Linked DNA regions of Homo sapiens: regions 1 and 3 are each linked to region 2. The links are contacts of gene promoters, found by promoter capture Hi-C in blood cells and fetal thymus (Javierre and others, 2016). All regions are on one chromosome and are shown on one strand. Each heading gives the region's core, a stretch centred on a gene start or on the middle of the fragment in contact. The rest is flanking DNA. Distances are from core to core; before and after follow the strand shown.

Region 1 (4,579 bases), core at 1,134-3,633, 710 kb after region 2:
ACCATTTCCAACAAGAGTCCAAGAAAAACAGGTAGGCAATGGCTATTACTAGATTGTGAACTGTCCTTTCTTCATTTTATTTTATAGAGCTTAAAAATGACTACTGAAAGCGAAATGTGGCACATGCATACAATGGAATATTAGCCTTAAGAAATTCTGACACATGCTATAACATGGATGAACTGTGAGAACATTATACTCAGTGAAATAAGCCAGTCACAAAAGGACAAATACTGAATGATTCCACTTATATGAGATAGGGTAGTCAGGATCATAGAGACAGAAAGTAGAATGGTGGGTGTCAGGACAAAAGGAAACGGGAAGTTATTGTTTATAATAAGTACAGATTTGCTGGGTGCAGTGGCTCACGCCTGTAATCCCAACACTTTGGGAGGCTGCGGCAGTGGATTGCCTGAGGCCAGGAGTTCAAGACCAGCCTGGCCAACATGGTGAAACCCAGTCTCTACTAAAAACACAAAAATGAGCCACGCATGGTGGCACTTGCCTGTAATCCCAGCTACTTGGGAGGCTGAGGCAGGAGAATCGCTTGAACCTGGGAGGCGGAGGGTGCAGTGAGCCGAGATGGCGCCACTGCGCTCCAGCCTGGGCAACAGAGCGAGACTCCATCTCAAAAACAAAACAAAATAAGTACAGATTTTTAGTTTGAGAAGATGAAAAAGTTCTGGAGCTGGATGATGGTGTTGGTAGCACAACATTATGAAGGCACTTAATACCACTGAACTATATAGACAGTTAAAATGACACATTTGGTGTTATATTTTACCACAATAAAATGTTTTGATAAAAAAGCAAAACAGGCAGGGCGCGGTAGCTCACACCTGTAATCCCAGCACTTTGGGAGGCTGAGGCGGGCGGATCACTTGATGTCGGGAGTTCGAGACCAGCCTGACCAACGTGGAGAAACCCCCGTCTCTACTAAAAGTACAAAATTAGCCAGGCATGGTGGCGCATGCCTGTAATCCCAGCTACTCAGGAGGCTGAGGCAGGAGAATCGCTTGAACCTGGGGAGGCGGAGGTTGCAGTGAGCCAAGATCATGGCATTGCACTCCAGCATGGGCAACAAGAGTGAAACTCCGTCTCAAAAACAACAAACAAACAACCTATCTAAACCAATACTTCTCATTCCATTCTCTGCAGAGCTGATCTCCCAAGCAGAAACTTGAGTAGGTATAGTGGGTATAAAGGTCAACTGCCCTCTCAAATTACAAGGAGATATGCACTTGCCCTTTGGTAATCCTGCTCCTTCTGAATCTGTTCCACCTGATCAAGCAACTGGCGGGCGCGGAGCTGTAGCTCCGTCAGCTTATCTTTTGCAGCAATCTCAGGGTAGTTGTTGGCATGCTCCCCAACCTGGATGTCGAGATGCACCCGCTACAAGGAAACATGGAATGTATGAGTGGTGGGGCCTCCAGTTGTCTGTTCCAGGGTATGGAACCCACTATTGTCCCTGGCTGTGGAGCAGAAGGCAACATCTGTCTCCCCAATTCTGACTGTGCTACAAAGTTTCACAATCTTGATAAATCAAAATTTGGAAACAAGTGAGAGATTCTAAGCTGAAGCCAAAGAGAAAATCCTCTTACCAGTTTGCCACCAGCGAAGAGAGCCATCCTGGTAGAATTGGAGTGCAGACAGATTTGATGGTCACCGGGCGTGTGGGAGGTGAACGTGAAGCGGCCCTCCGAGCCGTACTGCCGGGACAGCACCACCTGCAACATATGTGAGTGAAGGCCCCACCTTTATACCGCAGGCTCTCCAAGTGCAAGTTCCTGTCCCTTGAGGCCTCCTCCAGGCAGTGCTTTACACCCCACGGGAGCTCCACTGAAGAACGGCTGCGTGGGCCAACGCCAGCCTTACCTTGCCGTCGGGGTCCTTCACTTCCACGTGCATGCCCAGGCCAGGGGTCGAGGGCAGGAAGACCTCCTTCTGCTTATCCCACATCTGGGTACGATAGTTGCCTGCGGGGCAGACACATAGTCACGACCGGCCCTAGTGGGCCGCCTCTCCGCCCGGCCCCCTCCGACGTGCGGCCCGGAGCTCTAGGCAGGGGGCCTGGCGTCCTCGGGGCACCCTCAGGCTAGGTACTGGGGGAGCCAGCGACCCGGCTGGGCTCGGGAGGAGGGAGCGCCGCCGAGGGCTGAGCTGGGTACAAAGGGCCTCCCCACCCTCAGCCCGCCTGACCGATGACCATGGTCTCGTCGGGGATTTCCTCGATGAAACAGCGCTTCTCGGTCTCGCCGATGTGGAAGTAGAGCCCCTGGGCGCCTGTGGCGCACAGCGCGAGAAGCAGCAGGGCCTGCCGCCCCATCGCCCGCAGAGGCCCAGCCCCGACACCTGCCATCGCGCCTCAGCCCCTAAGCGCCTGCGCACATTTGCGCATCGCTCTGCGCCTGCGCGCCACCCTAGCGACCCTGAGAGTTAGGGGAAGAGGACGCCTGCGCAGTGATATGTACTCGCCGTCTCCTGCAACTCCATCCGTACCGAACACTGCCGCGCCCCGCCCCCTCACACAGCCCGGCGCCCGCCTACCCCCGCAACGAGAGTAGAGGGCGCATGCGCAATGACGTTCGCCCTTAATTTCTCGCCCCTTACCCCGCAGCTTACCTCCGGCATCTCGCAGGGGAGGCACGCCTGCGCAGTCACGCCCGCCCTCGGCCCCAGTCAGCGATTTGGGTCTCGGAGCACCAAGGAGACGGTGGACGGAATCTGACCAGGCTTGGTGGCTACGATGGCCTGAAGCGTGCCTTTTGGGTTCTCAGCTCGGGCTCACAAGTGTTTTCTGTGCTAAATACAAAAAGCCCTGTGATGTTTTGCTTTGCGTGTCCACCTATCTGACTCGTAAGAACCGAGGCTGAATCCAGACCCACACTCTGTCACGTCGGGAGAGCCTGCCGCGGCGAGCCTCTGCGAGCGGGCATTTCTTGGGTGGGGACCAAAAGCCCAGTGCTGCCATAGTTTCGGATCATTCTTTTAAGAAGCTGGGGCCGGGCGCGGTGGCTGGCACCTGTAATCCCAGCACTCTGGGAGGCTGAGGCGGGCGGATCCCTTGAGCCCAGGAGTTCGGGACCAGCCTGGGCAACATGGTGAAACCCCCGTCTCTACAAAAAATTAACCGGTGTGGTGGTGTGCGCATGTAGTCCCAGCTACTTGGGAGGCTGAGGCAGGAGAATCGCTTGAACCCAGGAGGTCGAGGATGCATTAAGCAGTGATCGCGCTCCAGCCTGGGCGACCGAGGGTGATACCTTGTCTTAAAAAAAAGGTGGGAGAGTGGAACGAAAACTTGGAATAAGTAGGGTCATGGAGCTTGTTTACATCCCCTAGTTACAGCACATCCTTTTGAAAGTGAAAAACAAACTGGAATGTTACTTAGTGGGCATGGAATCGAAGCAACGGAAGGTTAAAACTGTTTTTATCAAGGCCAGGCGGGCGCGGTGGCTCACGCCTGTAATGCTAACACTTTGGGCGGCCAAGGCTGGTGGATCATCTGAGGTTAGAAATTCGAGACCAGTTGGGCCAACAAGGTGAAACCCCCGTCTCTACTAAAAATACATTTTATCAACAGAATTTCGAAACTTTTATATAATAGAATAATTACAATGAACTTTCATAAAGAACTTGAGCATACCTGGATTTTGGTATCCGTAGGGGTCCAGGAATTATCCCCCTTGGATAATAACGGAGGGCTGTACTCATCATCCAACTTCAACAACAGTTTGCTGCCTTTCTCATTTCATGTATCCCTTTCTGCATTTTTTTTTGAAGTGCTGTATATTAAAGCAAATCCTGGACATCATGTCATTTCACCTATAAATACGTCAGTGTGTGTCTCTAACAGATAAGGACTTTATACTATTATCACACCCACCAAAATTTTAAAAATTATTTAACATCACTTAATACCTAGTATGTGTTTAATTTTCCCCATTGCCTTAAAAAATTTTGTACATTAGATATTTAGGGTCCAAACAAGGTTTACTTACTGCATTTCATACAAATATATGTCTCTTAATATATAACAATTTTGGCTGGGCACAGTGGCTCATGCCTGTAATCCCAGCACTTTGGGAGGCTGAGGTGGAAGGATCACTTGAGGTCAGGAGTTTGAGACCAGCCTGGCCAACATGGTGAAACCCTGTTTCTACTAAAAATACAAAAATTAGCCAGGTGTGGTGGTGCACACCTGTAATCTCAGCTACTTGGGAGGCTGAGGCAGGAGAATTGCTAGAATCAGGGAGGTGGAGGTTGCAGTGGGCTGAGATGATGCCACTGTACTCCAGCCTAGGCAACAGAGTGAGATTCTATCTCAAAACAAACAAAAACAGGGCCGGGCGCAGTGGCTCACACCTGTAATCCCAGCACTTTGGGAGGCCAAGGTGGGCAGATCACGAGGTCAGGAGTTCGAGACCAGCCTGGCCAATATGGTGAAACCCTACCTCTACCAAAAATACAAAAATTAGCTGGGTGTGGTGGTGCTCACCTGTAGTCCCAGCTACTTGGGAGACTGAGGCAGAAGAATCGCTTGAACCCAGGAGGCAGAGGTTGCAGTGAGCCGAGATCATGC
Region 2 (4,243 bases), core at 1,288-3,787:
TACCTGAAGAGGGAAGGGCATAATAGAAGAATCAGCCTCATTGCCCCAGGGCCCTGCCATAACTCCAGAGTCAACATCCAAAAGCGCTGAGCACAATCCCACCCTTCACCCCCAGCCTCTTCTCTTTTCTTCTGCTAATGGAATAAGAAAAATAACACTTTAAAGTTCAAAGTATGTTATGTCATTAATTCCCAAGCCAATTCAGTTTAGTAGGTATTATCATTATCCTTATTTTACAAAAAGGAAGATGGAGGCCTGAGTCAGGGTACAAAACTCAAGATGATGCCACCACATCTAGCCCCTTTCCTGCTTTCTTGGCTGCCTTATAAAAACACTGGTCATCCCATGGGCCAGAAAGATGAGGCTACCAGCTATTTTTGAGATTAGGGACATGAGCTAGGCCCAGGGCTTCCACCAGTGGGTTCCTCAGTGTGAACTGTGGATCCCCTGCAGCCCTTACAATGTCCACTAAGAGTCTGCACACCTACATCCAAACCTCAGACCAGAACCTGAAAGAGTGGGAGACAAGCATCTCTCTCTCTTTTTTTTTTTTTTTTTTTTTTTTTTTGAGATGGAGTCTCACTCTGTCGTCCAGGCTGGAGTGCAGTGGCGTGATCTCGGCTCACTGCAACCTCCGCCTCTTGGGTTCAAACAATTCTCTGCCTCAGCCTCCTGAATAGCTGGGATTGCAGGCGCCCGCCACTACGCCCAGCTAATTTTTTTGTATTTTTAGTAGAGATGGGGTTTCACCATCTTGGCCAGGTTGGTATTGAACTCCTGACCTCAGGATCCACCCTCCTCGGCCTCCCAAAGTGCTGGGATTACAGGCGTGAGCCACCGTGCCAGGCAAGCATCTGTATTTTAAGTAAGTTCTCTAGATGCATCTCAAACATCCAAGAACCCCTGTACTAAACAAAGCACAGTTGGTTATCAATTGTTCACAATAGTTATATTCTATAAAGTCACTGCCAACACTGACTTAGTGAATACTGAACCATTGCTCCTAGGTGAAATACAGGGTTAGATTCCTTTCAGCCTCTGGGCACCGTATTTTTGTTAACAAATCAATACATAACCTAGTTTCCTTTGTGTTTCTGTTTAAAGACACCTTGTTTAATATATATGGTAGATTCACTAACATTGAATTCAGGGCCAAGAGCAACTCATGACTGAAGAAAGATTCTCTAATACATGTATGTTCTCCCTAAGGCACGTCACAGCCTTCTCCCGCTTAGGAACACTAGATAGCACTTCAGCATTGCAAGGCCATTTTAAACAGCAAAATCACTAACAAAAAGCACGAAAATGCAAATTAAAAAAAAAAGATTCTAGACCATAAAAAGGACACCTTTTACAGTACGAGAGCTGAAACTAGGCAGAGCCTTGTCGACCTCAGCTCGGGACATGCACCTGGGGTGGCAGCTCCACCCACATCTCAGAGTGACCTTGAGAGTGCCCAGAGTGTTGATTTGGGGCTTACAAATAAATTTTAGTCAGTAGAAGAATCTGAAAATATGGAATTCATGAATAACGAGGGTTGTCTGTATATATTTACAGAGAAAAATTTGTGCTTTAGTGGAAAACTGCATTCCTTAGAGCACACTGTTCAGGGTTATCAGATTCTGCAACGGTTTCACTCCTTTCCTTGACTCTGAGCTATTTTACAGCTCTGTAAATTACAGATAACTGACAGGAATGCAAAATAATTCTTGTCTGTAGACATGCAAATAATTTCTGTTCAGTGGAGGATCAATTGAGTCCCTGCCTGCCATGGAAAAAGTCAGTTTTGCATCCATCTTCAAATTTGTTTCAACATCCTGATCTATATATATCTCTGCTTTTTTATGTCTCCCTTGAGTTGGTTTCATAGATTTCTGACCCTAGCATTATTTCCTGAGTTAAAGAAAACCTGTGACACGTGTTCATTTTGTTTACATGACAGTCGGATTGAGTGCTCCTTTTGGAGGCCTGGGGTCCGCTCACCTGTGTGCAGCGACAGCCAGCCTTTACGGTGGGCGATGTAGTGCGGCGCGTGTGCCTCCTCGTAGGTCACCGGCTTGTCCCCCTTGCTTACGCGTACTCGGGCCGCCCGGTTCTAGGAGCAAAAGGGGCCGTGACTCCACGAGATCCCCGATCCAGACCCCTACTTCGCGCCATGTCCCCCCAGTCAGCTGGCACTGTTCCCCGGCCCCAATCCCCTGATCCCTAAGCCCCGACCCTAGCCCCGCCTCGGACCCCAGCGACACGCCCCCTTCAGCCCGCACGGCTTCCCCGGCCCCCGGCCCCCCGGCCCCCAGGCCCCCAGGCCCCTGCCCCGGCGGTGCTCACCTTGGCGCAGACCGGGGAGGTGTGCAGGGCGCGCCAAGCGCAAGGCAGCTCTCGGCTCCAGGACAGCACCTGTGGAGGGAGGGCGCGTGAGGCGGAAACTAGGGACCCCACCTCCGACTCGCAGGGACCTGCCGAGTCGCCCCACTCACCCGTGGCCCCAGCAACCCGCTGCACACGGAGGCCGCCATCTTGGGCCAAGCGGAGCGCGGGACGTACCACAGCGCGCTGAGGGGTGGGGACGACCGCGGACGAGACCAAGTCGGAGCTCGTACTCTGTACTCTGGCGGGGGCGGGGCAGGGCCTCTGCGGGGCGGGGCCGCGGTATGCTGCTAGCTGTTACTCCCGCCTTCCCCGCAGCCCTGTGAATGCTCAGCCTTGTGAATGCTCATCCCGCCGCTGTTCGCTCTCCCGCGGTTGCTGCTTGCATAGGGTTTCAGATCCGGAAATTTGAGGATGCGAAACGTGAGATTTTCTCTTCGACAACCTCACGCTAGTACGGGTGATGGGTGTGCGGCCCACCGGAGCCCGCCCTGCCCAACCTGCACCCTCGGGGCTCGAAGAGGAGCCAAGCGTTTCCCCAGGTCCTAGTTATGCCTCCAAATAATATTCGTAGAAAAACAAAACAGAAAAACCCTCCAGACTTTTATCCACAAATAAAGAAGAAACATATTTTGGTTAAAACGTCACCCAATTCTTCAAGGATGACTTACGCAGTTATGCAAGAATGGGTTTGCCACATGTGACCACAGTGGTGACTGGCCCCTGAGGAAGGAAAATTTTAAGTACGGGGAAGGGGCCGGAGGGCAAGGAGATTCGTGAGAATATCGCAGGGCCTGTAATGCTGAAACCAGTGCGTCGCCACTATTATTGGTATCCAGTAATTATTAATGTCAAACGGAAAAATAGCAACGCGGGATATTTTATTTTAGAAGTCACCACGGTCATGGAAAAAACACGGGCTCTGGAGTCAGACCCATGTATAACAATCTTTGTACAGTTAAGACTCAGTTCTATTATCTATAAAATGGGCCTTAATAATAGTACTACCTTATAGAGCTATTAGGATCAAGAGAATATTTAATCAATGATGGGTTGTGTTTGGTTGAGTGATGTGAAATTGCCAATGTTTTGGCCGTTCTGGGTCTACATCATTCCCCTTAATGGTACAGTACTTGCATACTGCTGCGGTTTCCTGTCAGGGGGAGGACTGGATTATGATCCATGGGAAGGGGAAATGGAAGAACGGTGGAAATGAGTTGCCCATGACCACACTGAGAAGAGGGAAAGAGGGACCAAGACACAAGTCTCTTGACTTCAGTCCAGCCCATTTCCCATGACCAAGATTCCTCTGATTACATGAAGGTGGGTTCTCAAAAAACCCGTAATAAAAGGACAAGGTCTTCCATGTCCACTTCACCAGAAATGTTTTATTCTTACTTTTTAGGAACTGCGGCCCCCAACTGTTATGCATATTGAATAAAGGGACAGAACAGGGATGAGGTGCCCTCCAATGCATACTTTGCAAATGTAAGAACTTTCAACATTTCCTAAGAAATCCTTTTCAACTGACAATTATTTTTTAAAGTTTTCATAATGTTCAATAATTTTATAATTGTTAAGTTTCATTAATTTGCTCCAAGGTGGTGAGGAACATGGGATGTGGCATCTGAATTGCCTGAGTCCAAATCGTGGACCCAATGCTTCCTGGCTGTGTAATTTGGACAAGTGACTGAACCTTCTGAGCCTCGGTTTCTCTCATCTGTAAACTGGGGACAATAATGGTGGTTGTGAGAAGTACAGTATGATGTGCCTGGCAGAGGGAGAGAGCAGTTGTGGGTTTTGTTGTTGTTTTTAACGAGTCCCTGATAGCCACATATCCCGTTAGGGAGATGAGCCAGCTATTGAGGGTTCTGTG
Region 3 (4,464 bases), core at 1,850-4,349, 960 kb before region 2:
AAAACATTTCCAATACAAGGATGACCTGAGACAGTCAGCCTGTTATTACATGAGTCAAGAAACACCCCATGGGCTTCAGTCCCATACCCAGGCCCTGTTCTCAAACAGGAGAGCAGGCCAAAGTTCTCCTCTTGGGGCAGAGGACAGGGAGTAAGAGGAACAACACATCTTACCATGTTACATTTCAACCCCACTTACGGGGTTATGCTCCATATTACCTTTTAGAGCACGGGGATTATTCGGTATTTAAAAGTAGGAAAAAACTTGTCTAATAAAGTTAACTGCATCTGCACATATTTTGGAGAAATTACTTAACTTCTTTAACAATTTTTTAAATGGTTATTGCTTATTTAGGCTATTTTTCAATTCTAATTTACATTTCCTGAAACAGTCATCTGTTCCAATGAGATTTCCCAGTATATCACAATTATCTATATATCTCCCTCCAAAGCTGTTTTATATCCTTCCTGTGCTTGCAGCTAGCACTCTTATTTTATGCTTTCTGCTTTTTATGCCTCATTCACAATTCTTTTATCTTTTTCTTTTTGAGACAGGGTCTCACTCTGTTGCCCAGGCTGGAGTACAGTGGTACAACCAAAACTCACTGCAGCCTTGACCTCCCAGGCTCAGGTGAGCCTCCTGCCTCAGCCTCCCTGGTACCTGGGACTGCAGGAGTGCACTACCATGCCTGGCTAATTTTTGTATTTTTTGTAGAGCGGGGTTTTGCCATGTTGCCCAGGCTGGTCTTGAAGTCCTGGGCTCAAGGGATCCACCCTGCCTCAGCCTCCCAAAGTGCTGGGATTACAGGTGTAAGCCACAGCGCCCAGCCTGACCTGTCTTTTTCTATATGGACTACATTTATTCTCCATCCTCACCTTTTGTTTGGAATTTATTCAGCTATTCAGCTTGGTTTAATTTATACTATCAGTTATATTTCCTGTTTGACACTCAAAACTAAATAGCTCTATTTTTCAATAGCAAAATTTCAAAGTGTCTGTTGACTCTAAGTAAGATGAGGATTTTTAGCATGCTTTTACTTTCCTCAACCACTTCCAATTCCCAGGCATAACGACAGTTTATTACGTATCTTCACACTTTAGAACTATTTGGACATTTGTTTGCTTTATAGCTATAGCTCTGTGATTCCTTTGACTTACCAGTTAACTGATATTTAATTGAACATTCCTTTTATAACTTCCCTCATTGTTTTTATTGTCTCTTTTTTTTTTTGAGATGTAGCCTCGCTCTTGTTACCCAGGCTGAAGTGCAATGACGTGATCTCGGCTCACTGCAACCTCCACCTCCCAGGTTCAAGTGATTCTCCTGCCTCGGCCTCCTGAGTAGCTGGGGTTACAGATACCCACCAACATGCCTGGCTAATTTTTGTATTTTTAGTACAGACAGGGTTTCACCATGCCAGCCAGGCTGGTATTGAACTCCTGACCTCAGGTGATCTGCCCCTCAGCCTCCCAAAGTTTTGGGATTACAGGTGTGAACCACCACATCCGGCCTTTATTGTCTAATATTTTACCTTTATGAAAGGAATGTTTTGGCCAGCTGGAATAGACCTTGACAGTGTAGATCATGTGTGTGGTCTCTAGGGAAGGTGCTATTTCTTACATTCCAGGATCCAGTGCCCTACTACTTGAGCATATGTACTGCTTGCATTATTTATTACATTGTTAGGAGTTGCAATCACTGGAATGCTTGAAAAAACATCATGGTCTTTGGCAGGGCACAGCTGTGGTCACTTCACAAAGCAGTTTCCTAAAGAGTGCTGTGGCCTGTCCACTTTCTAGTTGGCAAAGATCCCAAGTTCTTAGGTATTGATTGATTCATAGGGAGCAGGGATAGAAATCTACCTTCTTTCTGCTCCTTTAAAACAAGTCTTTTATATGCCATGCCCTTTGTACTGTGTCTGACACATGGCTGTCACTCAATGCTTATTAAACGAATGAGTACATTAATATGTCAATTCTGCCTCAAACAAATCCAACATGTATCCATGACTCTACAGTCCATCATTCCTGCTCTAGCTAAGGTCATTATAGTCCAAACTTTCTTTCAATTTTTATCCACACTACAGATTTTTGTGGTTTCCTTAAGAGACCTGATCATAAGCCACACTTTCTTAAAAATCACCAATGGCTCTCTAATGCCAAACTCTTTAGAGAACTTTGACTTTTTTTTCTAGCTCCATCTTGTTTTATAAACTGTCCACTTGAGCCTGGTCCCTGAACAGGTCCTCATAGTCACAGTTCTGGTACTTTTCCAATCCCATTCCTCCATGTACTTTTGAGTACCCTTTCTCACACATCTTGTGAAATTTCACACCCCAAACCCTCAAACAACACTTCCTCTCTGACTTCCTGGCCCCATAACAAGTACTCCTTTACTCTGTCCCCATAGTATTTTCAACATATCCTAGAGAATTTAGTACATTTAATTGCACTTCAGTTGTTTACTTCCACTTTAGACTTAAGAATTCCTTAGAGCAAACATTCATCTTTTCACACCAAACTATTATAATGCTTGGTACTTAATAGTATCAAGTACTACATGACCTTAATAGATGCTCAAAAAGCTTAAATTCCATTTCTAACACTAGACATATACCACTCTACACTAAACTGGAAGCAAATCACAGCCTTTCTACTAGAAAATGTATTCTGACTTAGTAAAGCAATCTCTCCCCAGAGAACCACCCCCATACACTTAATTTTGCATTCATTTCAGGGTGTTCATGAATGCCAATAACCAAATTCCACCCCAACAAACACTGTGGCTGTAAATTGAGATTCTCTTCTCAACAAATACGACATTTGGCATGGTAGAAAGAGATCAGACTGTGGCTAGAAACATCAAGTTTTAATACCAGCTCCTACACTTAGCATGAGTTAATATTTAAGCTCCAGGACTCAAATTCCAAATTTTTAAATGTGGTGAATACATACCGACTTTGCTAGTTTTGCTTTATTGAAAACTGATAAAGTATCTAGCGCAATGTAGCCATAGAAGTGTATTTTTAACTACAACTTGTGTCATGGAATTGGCATGGAATATTCTGTCACCATCTCATGAAAGTAAGGTAATGCAGTTGTCACTTGCCACTTGCAAATGAAACATGAAAATAGTATTTATTGTTCAAATACTTATAATATGGGGGCTTTCTGTATTGAATTTTTAAAATCTTTTACATAATCCTTTTTCAATTCATTCAAATTAGTATTTTACCTTAAGTGTCCTGGTTTTATCTTATAGTAGTAAGATTGTTGGCTTTCTTTTCACAAAGGTCTACCAATGGGTTCATGGCACTCAAATAACCATAATTCACTTTCTCATTTCTTCTGTATTATGTACTTTTTGTAAAAACACCTATCAGACTGCACCTGACATACAGCAAATAAGTTTTTCATTAATGGTTAACCTTAGAATCTAAAATTGATTACCAACGACTACCTCCCAGCCTAAACCATATAAAGCAATACAATGAAAAACAGGCTTGAATTTTCTCCAGATATTTAATGCAAGATGCAATGTAGCCATATTCCATGAAATGTGGTTAGCAGTAGGGGAGTTGTAGCCCTATCGAATCAAAGTATTACAATACAGCTGAAAGCTTTATATAGACGTATTTCGGTTCTTAATTGCACTAATGCAGACAGTTTGATAGATAAGCTTCTCTCTTGTGCTTTTTCTACTTTGGGAGGTTATATACTTTAGATGAGAGACAAAGAAACTCTACTGGTTTAAGAGTTCTCAGTTTTACTTTTACTATAGACCTTTTTTCCCACCAGTTTAGATGGGAAGACCCAGCCTTTGGTATAAATAACTTACTTCCACAAAAATATTTAAAGGGTATCTTTAGTGTTCACTGTCAGTTGTGTAGTCTTTTGGTAAGGGGGTGGCTAGAGCCTCTTTACTCTCAGTAAGTGCTCTGGGCTGATGGATAAACACACTAAATTTAACACCCTGGTTGTTTGCAGCTCTGACAAAACCACTATTAGCAGTCATTGTGATGGCTTTTAGGGTGTCTCCCGTCCCAAAAATTGTTAATGAGCGGCTATTAATTTTTGAACTGGCCACTAGTCTCAAGGCACGCTCAGAAGGCTGGTCTGGTACCACATTAATTCGCTTAATTAACACAGTGGCCCTCTCTCTCTCCCCAGGTCCTCCTAAGGTATCTAAAATAGACTGAAAGTCCTTGACAGCAGATTCACAAGCAAACAACTCCTTGTCCTTCATAAAGGCCTCCAGCTGAGGTAGAACCTGCTCTTTCCTCTCTTGCTCTGCTTGTTCTGTGAGCACTTTCTCTTTGAAAATAAAGTGGCAGCCTCCATAGCTGAGGGCAGATACATATGTGATTAAAGTAGTAATGTCCAGATTTACTCTTTTGCACACATCGACCTTAATTTCTGTTGGAAACGCAACACTTGCTAGTATATTTTCTCGGTCAACTCTGGT

Evidence for each region. Contacts are between HindIII fragments. The CHiCAGO score rates a contact against its expected background, and 5 or more counts as called.
Region 1: a contact is called between the fragment with the promoter of TMED4 here and the fragment with the promoter of MRPS24 in region 2, in 1 of 17 cell types (non-activated CD4 T cells). The highest score is 5.0, in non-activated CD4 T cells.
Region 3: a contact is called between a fragment that was not itself captured here and the fragment with the promoter of MRPS24 in region 2, in 3 of 17 cell types (naive B cells, naive CD8 T cells and total B cells). The highest score is 6.7, in naive B cells.

Annotation. Positions count from the first base shown.
Region 1 is chr7:44,579,848-44,584,426 of GRCh38, forward strand. It overlaps TMED4 (transmembrane p24 trafficking protein 4), which reads right to left and starts at 2,384. Exons shown (of 5, transcript NM_182547.4): 1 at 2,200-2,384; 2 at 1,876-1,976; 3 at 1,602-1,727; 4 at 1,246-1,392. The coding sequence starts at 2,359. RefSeq lists silencers at 2,008-2,107, 2,508-2,667 and an enhancer at 2,758-2,867. The HindIII fragment of the contact is 9,471 bases long and covers 1-4,579 here.
Region 2 is chr7:43,866,980-43,871,222 of GRCh38, forward strand. It overlaps MRPS24 (mitochondrial ribosomal protein S24), which reads right to left and starts at 2,538. Exons shown (of 4, transcript NM_032014.3): 1 at 2,478-2,538; 2 at 2,329-2,397; 3 at 1,984-2,095; 4 at 1-3. The coding sequence starts at 2,516. URGCP-MRPS24 (URGCP-MRPS24 readthrough) reads right to left here. Exons shown (of 7, transcript NM_001204871.2): 5 at 2,329-2,397; 6 at 1,984-2,095; 7 at 1-3. The coding sequence ends at 2,007. It overlaps LOC124901620 (a long non-coding RNA gene), which reads left to right and starts at 2,667. Exons shown (of 2, transcript XR_007060296.1): 1 at 2,667-3,855; 2 at 3,969-4,243. RefSeq lists silencers at 2,250-2,309, 2,610-2,669 and an enhancer at 2,900-3,019. The HindIII fragment of the contact is 8,402 bases long and covers 1-4,243 here.
Region 3 is chr7:42,905,771-42,910,234 of GRCh38, forward strand. C7orf25 (chromosome 7 open reading frame 25) reads right to left here. Exons shown (of 2, transcript NM_001099858.2): 2 at 3,503-4,464. The coding sequence ends at 3,865. Among named protein-coding and RNA genes, the nearest start is that of C7orf25, 4.1 kb to the right of the region's middle. The HindIII fragment of the contact is 1,035 bases long and covers 2,583-3,617 here.